Regions from separate parts of the Homo sapiens genome. Here region 2 is linked to region 1. Evidence: promoter capture Hi-C in 16 types of primary human blood cells and fetal thymus (Javierre and others, 2016). All regions are on one chromosome and are shown on one strand. Each heading gives the region's core, a stretch centred on a gene start or on the middle of the fragment in contact. The rest is flanking DNA. Distances are from core to core; before and after follow the strand shown.

Region 1 (3,454 bases), core at 795-3,294:
GATAGAAATATCCTATTCAAAATGCTTTCCTGTCTCTTATTTTATTTTCTCTAGGAAATAACATCTAAAGCAGGTCAAGTGGGTATTCTGCTCCTGTTGTATGAATGGGAACGTTAAGGACTGGAGGAATTACATAATAATTTAGTGGAAGGCCACCTAAAGCCCTGCTCTCCTTGTCCTATAAAATACCTTCCACCTTGCCAAGTCTTCTACTGAAATCTGGAAATCACCCTTCATCCTAACCCCAGTTGCCTAATTTAAAAAAATAAAAAATAAAAGACTGTCAGTGCTCATTTCGTCTTGAAACTGACAGATTTTAAATCACCAGTATGGTACCAGGCCATTTTCTCATTATTTGTTTTCCTTAGCTGAGAACAAAACCAGTTTATATCCTGCATTCTCATATCCCATCATCAAGCTATGTGTGAGGACCCTTAGAGTATGATCAGCTCACCCAAGAGTCTCCCTTCCACAATCACTCAGCATAATTAGATTTACTGAGCTAGAAAGGTCCTGAAAGGAGGTTTTATTCAATTCTTATGAGATAGATATATCACTGTAAACTAACTTCTACTTTTCTTATCCCAGCCTGGCCAATATGGTAAAACCTTGTCTCTACTGAAAATAGAAAAGTTAGCTGGGTGTCGTGGCAGGTGTCTATAATCCCAGCTACTCAGGAGGCTGAGGCAGGAGAATTGCTTGAACCCAGGAGGCAGAGGTTGCAGTGAGCCGAGATTGCACCACTGCCCTCCAGCCTGGTGACAGAGAGACTCTGTCTCAAATAATAATAATAATAATAATAATAATAATAATAATAATAATAATAATTTTTTTATTAAACATTTGGTATTAAGTAAAAGATCACCTACTTAAGTATAAATCATTCATACAGCATTCTTTTGTTTCTTTTAATATTTTGCTTTTTTGAGGCAGATTCTCGCTCTATCACCCAGGCTGGAGTGCAGTGGTGTGATCTCGGCTCACTGCAACTTCTGCCTTCCGGGTTCAAGTGGCCCTCCTGCTTCAGCCTCCCAAGTAGTTGGGATTACAGGTGCCTGCCATGACACACAGCTAATTTTTGTATGTTTCGTAGAGAAAGGGTTTCATCATGTTCTCCAGGCTGGTCTCAAACTCCTGGCCGAAGTTATCAGCCCGCCTTGGCCTCCCAAAGTGCTGGGATTACAGGCATGAGCCATGGCACCCGGCCACATTTGTGTCTATAGCTTTGTTTCATTGTAAGTATTCTAGGCCAGGCACGGTGGCTCACGCCTGTAATCCCAGCACTTTGGGAGGCCGAGTCGGGCGGATCATGAGGTCAGGAGATCGAGACCATTCTGGTTAACATGGTGAAACCCCGTCTCGTCTCTACTAAAAATACAAAAAAACTTAGCCGGGCGTGGTGGTGGGCGCCAGTATTCCCAGCTACTCGGGAGGCTGAGGCAGGAGAATGGCATGAACCCAGGAGGCAGAGTTTGCAGTGAGCCGAGATTGCGCCACTGCACTCCAGCCTGGGTGACAGAGCAAGACTCCGTCTCAAAAAAAAAAAAAAAAAAAGTATTCTATGCTTTTGCATGTGTGCTTGTTTTTACTCTAACCTTAGGTTTTATTTTCCTGAGTGACAAGACTTATTTCTCAATCACATCACTCCTTAACCAAAGAGAGAGAGAGAGAGAGAAAGAGAGAGAAAGAAGGAACAAAGAAAAGGCAAGAAAGAAAGAAACCTATACATTTGCTTTTTTAAAATTTGGTTTTAAAAAAATGTCTTTCTCAGTTATCTATTTCAATGGGAAGTGAAGTCAGGGAGGAGGAAGATGTCACTGATAACACCTGAAAATTCTAATCTTCCGACTTGATTTCTCATCTTCAAGTCTGTTTTCTCCAAAGATGAGATGGCTTTCCTGTTCACTTGGCAACCTCTCAGTCTTACCCCAATGCTTAGGGATATAAATGACCCAGAACCAGGAGAGTTGATTATCAACATAGTGAAGGGGAGGGTTTCAAAGAGCAAGAAGGGGTTGTTAGTCACACGGAGAGAGAAGAAAGGAGATTAGCAGGGTGACTTTCACCCTGCAACAGTCACGCTGGAGTACTCTGGTGAAGGATCAAGAATATTACCAGTTTTCTGATGAAGAAAGGAATATATTTGGTCACCAGCAATCTGCCTTTGACCATCCTCAAAGCCAAGTTTTTCATCGCTGTCTAGAAAAATACTTCATTCAGAGGACACATATGTCCTCTTTGAATGTCTCCTTTTTGGGAGCAGTAGGAGAAAGAAACTTCAAGATGTAGAAAGAATTAATAGTGTAACGGAAAGAAAGAAGGCAAAAGGAAGTAAATGTGGAGGCCATAGAAATAGTAATAAGAATAAAGAAGAAAAACAGGAAAGAAGAGGGAAAAGCCATAGAAAATAACAGCCAGAGCGAGTAGGAGGAGACAGAGAGAACGAGAGAGAGAAAAGCTGATAAATTCCTGAGAAAAGTTTCTCTTCTTAAGAATTCTAGGTCAAGAAGTAAAATATGGCACAGAGCATTGAAAGGAGGCAACGGATGCCCAGTGCAAGATTCTGAAGAAGCAGGAATTCAGCCCGATGGGAGTCCGAGTTCATGTCGTGGCGGCCTCAGCCCTGCTGTATTTCATCCTGGTGAGTTCAGTGGTGAAAAGGCAGAAAGAGTATTTTTCCCCAGATTAATCAACTCTCAGAAGAGTCTGAAAGGAAATGAACTGCGGGGTGGGGAGACATATACAGAACCCAGGGGGTCATAGGGAAATGAATAAACTACAAAGTTTCCTTAGTATTACGAGATTGCATAGATGCATGTGTGACTGATGGCAATGACAATGAAAAGGGGGACAGAAATTAGAGTGAGCATGGAAACGAGCAGGATTGCCGTGGCACTTTAGAAGTGCCGCTGAAGTATTTTATCTCTTTTAGCATCTTATCACCCATCCCTCAAAATTCCAAACAAATTATGAAAACTAGGTGTGTAATTCCCCTAAACGGAATTTCCCATCCAGGAATTTCTAATCCTGTTCTAGCAGTTTAGGTGCCTCTAGTCTAGAAATAAGAGAGGCAGGGCTCTTTTAAAATATTTTGGGCCCCACAATGAATCAGAAGTCTCTGAGTAATCCATTAGTGGAGAAAAGGGTCACTGGACTGAGGGATTCTAAACAATTGTCACAGGGAAGTTTATAGAGCTATGCCATCTAGCAAGAAGGAGAGCAAATGAAGAAAACTGGATAGTCTCAGATTCCCGTATGGCCCCCGTACAGAGTGGGCTGTATGGTTTGTTTTTTTTTTTTTTTTGCTAATAGAACAGTTAAAGTGGTATCTGAAAATCCATTTTTTCTTATATTTTCTTTTTGCTTCCTCTTCACTCCCTTTGCCTTGTCTTCCCTTCATTTTTCCTTTCTTTTCTCTTTGCAACAAGCCTGAAAAGTAGCATTTTCTCTGCTG
Region 2 (3,332 bases), core at 593-3,092, 520 kb after region 1:
TGCACGCATGTCTCTGGTGTTGCTCCTCACAAGAACACCAGTCATATTGGATTAGACCTCACCCTAAAATGGACTTATTTTAAACTCATCTATCACCCCTTAAAACAACTTATCTCCCAATATGGTTACATTCTGAGGTACTGGAGGTTAGGACTTCAACATTTGAGTTTTAGGGGGACACAATTTGGCCCTTAACAGCCATTCTGGAAAACATCTTAGGAACTTTTTAAAATAACAACACACACACACACACACACACACACACACACACACACACTTCTTCCCACAATTTTTATTACTCGGGAAATTCTGTTCTCAACTGATAAGAGGGAGTTTTCACCAGTGGTGCCAAGTCCATGTGACAGGCACAGGCGTTGCCTGGAACCCCTTATGTGCAAGCCTTCATGAATTTGACAATGAGATCAATGCATAAAAGAACAATACTATGGCAATAACAAAGTGGTGATTTCTAGTCTCTTTTATCAGATGCCTCTATTCTATACCCCTTTTACTAGAATACTGTCCAAACTAGAGGCATAGGGAGGGATCTGCAAACTAAGCTCCCCGTGTTATTTGACCAGTGTGGATCATTCATTAGAGCTTACCATCCCCATTCTGAAAGCCTGGGTGATTCTGGAGCTAGCTCATCAGTTAAAATGAAATGCTTTCACAAAGCATTTTGGGAAAATCACAAAGCTGATGAATTCTTATTTCTGCTACTGCACAAGATCACATTTCCAGAGATTTATATCAGCACCTGTATCCTTTCTAGACTTTTTCTTATTAAACAAAATGCTTATGCCATAATATACAAAATCAATCTTGAGATTCTTTTCCATTTTTTAACTGAAACTAGCTTCAATCTAATTTAGCTCTAAATTTTTTCTTTAAAATCTCAAAACATGTCTTTATAAACACATTTATCCACTCCACTAAGAGCAAAAAGCTTTCAAAACTTGCATCTTTGCAATAAACACAAGAGCCCTTATAACAGTTACAGCTGACTTACTTGTGATCTGAAAGCACCCATCACTCTTGACACATAGTAGGAGGCAAATACTGATTTGCATAGTGCTATTTTCTGATAGGTGCAGTGCCATCAAATATGAACAACCACAGAGTTAAGTTGTGATTGCCGTATGACAGATAGCCTTCTAGTTAATTTCTGGCTGTGGTCTCACCCCGGTAGCCTGTATTTCTTGATAAAGCAATCCAAGGTCCCTCACCAGTAAAATAACATACTTTTGGCCCATCCTCACATCACATCCAATTTGTGTTATTTCTGTACCTACAACCAGTGTGTTTTCCCCAACTCTGCATTCATCATTCCATTTTATTTTATTTTTTCCCAGAAATAGAATAGCTACCATCCTGAAACAGATGACAGTATTTAGAAGTAAGGATGTTGGGATTATATCAAGCAAAATGTTTGCAATGGCAATTAAGATACCCTCAATATCCCATGATAGAAGGCTAGTACAATTATGGATAGCTATGTAATGGAATGTTATATAGTCAGTACAAATGATGAGAGGACTCTATAGGAAAAATATTAGGTGAAAAAGAAAATCAGTGCCAAAAAGTATACGTACATTTTAAAAACATTTTAAAAAGTATGTTTGAAATATTCTATACTAGAATAGCTTTAAAGTGAGCAGGAAGAGAGAAGGGGAAGTTAGGAAAAAGAAGACTGGCTAAATAGTATAGTTGAACTATCCATAGAATTTTAAACATGGATATGTCTAATGATTGTTTTTAAGTTGTTAACATAAGCACAATTTAAGCTCATTTCCTCTTCTCAAATTTGCATTAGTCGGCCAATCACACACACACATACACACACACACACACACACACACAGAGACTCACACACATGAAATATGTGAAATGGGTCTATTTTTAAGATATGCTAACTGGTTGCCTGGAGGAAACTGGAACCAAGATGGGAGCCTTTTTTAATAGAATAAAATAGTTGATTTTTTTTTTGCCTTGGCCTATTACCAATTTTTACCAACCCTTTTAACTTGCAAGATAATACAAGGTTCTTGAACAGTTCACATTCACCTGCTTGCCATTTATTAGGCCAAGAATGCTCCCTCCACCTGCAATGCTCTTCCCTGCAGATACTCAAATGTTTAATGCCCCTTCACCTTAGGACTCCATTTAAATAGGAGACCCTCCCCACTATTTAAAATCAACATATCCCCTATGATTATGCCAGTCCCTGTCCTCCTACCATGTTTTATGTTTCTTAACAGCACTTATTGCCATCTAAATTAAATTCCATACTTGTTTATTTTCTGTATGTACCTGGTCATTGAAACAATGGTATTTTGTTGGTTTGTTCCATCCTAGCCACTAGAATAATGTTTAGCACAAACCTACACTGGATATGTACTGCTGCAGCAGTTCTGAAAAGTAACTATACGGCACTGACAGCTGCGATAGTTTTTCTCAACTTAGGGGCACCATGGCTGGGAGGGGGAGAAATGTAGTTGTAAAGAGCTCCCTTGTATACCTACAACACAGCAGTTACTGGTAAAAACCTCAGGCTGGAAGTTGAAGGATGTTAGAACTATTAACTCCTTCGTTAATCTAAAGGTCATCACGTCACCTCACTGAATGAAGATTACTCAAAAAGAGACAGTACCAAATAATTCATGCCTACTACTGAACTCAGACATGAACTTGTCAATTTCCAGCTGTACATTTCAACAGGAATCCAATTTTTTATCATCTCAAGCTTATATGCCTAAATTTGTGAAACAGCATTAACTTAACTTTACATTTGGCTTTGAATTTACTATTAATCAAGTCAAGTAAATCAAGTGGTGGAGAAGACAAACACACGCTAAGGTCGGCAAAAATACACTCCCATTAAACATTCTGTCCTCTGAAGGGTAAAAATTTTATTTTTGAGGAATTTCTTACTGCACATTTTCAAAGAGAGTCACATAAGAAAGCAAAAATGTTATCCTCCCCTCATCCTAGAAATAAATAAGAAGGACATAAATTTTTTTTTTTTTTAAATCATGACACTTGGAGGTTTAGCACCAGCATCCAAAATGAACAAAAACGGAAAAAAAAGCATTTACTATATATTTCAGATTTCTTTGGTTGGGGTTCTCCCCATGTGGTATTAATATTTCTTGTTTCAATATATATATTACCAAAACAGTAAAAACCAGGAAAAAAAATAGAAACCTAGCGGTTGCTGAAACTGGAGAGGCTACTCTCTTGTCTTCCGTGCAGGAATTCCCAGGTTCTCAGCTTGCTGGAAAAATTTGTTGACATTTTCTTTTTGTAGTTGTTTCTTAAAGAATAACAGTAAA

What was found. The method cuts DNA at HindIII sites, captures the fragments that hold promoters and counts their contacts. A CHiCAGO score of 5 or more calls a contact.
Region 2: a fragment that was not itself captured here is called in contact with the fragment with the promoter of TMEM52B in region 1 in 1 of 17 cell types (naive CD8 T cells); the score reaches 5.4 in naive CD8 T cells.

What each region holds. Positions count from the first base shown.
Region 1 is chr12:10,176,988-10,180,441 of GRCh38, forward strand. TMEM52B (transmembrane protein 52B) reads left to right here and starts at 2,045. Exons shown (of 5, transcript NM_001384896.1): 1 at 2,045-2,641. The coding sequence starts at 2,588. RefSeq lists an enhancer at 2,403-3,454. The HindIII fragment of the contact is 29,503 bases long and covers 1-3,454 here.
Region 2 is chr12:10,696,200-10,699,531 of GRCh38, forward strand. YBX3 (Y-box binding protein 3) reads right to left here. Exons shown (of 10, transcript NM_003651.5): 10 at 2,890-3,332. Among named protein-coding and RNA genes, the nearest start is that of STYK1, 24 kb to the left of the region's middle. The HindIII fragment of the contact is 1,797 bases long and covers 945-2,741 here.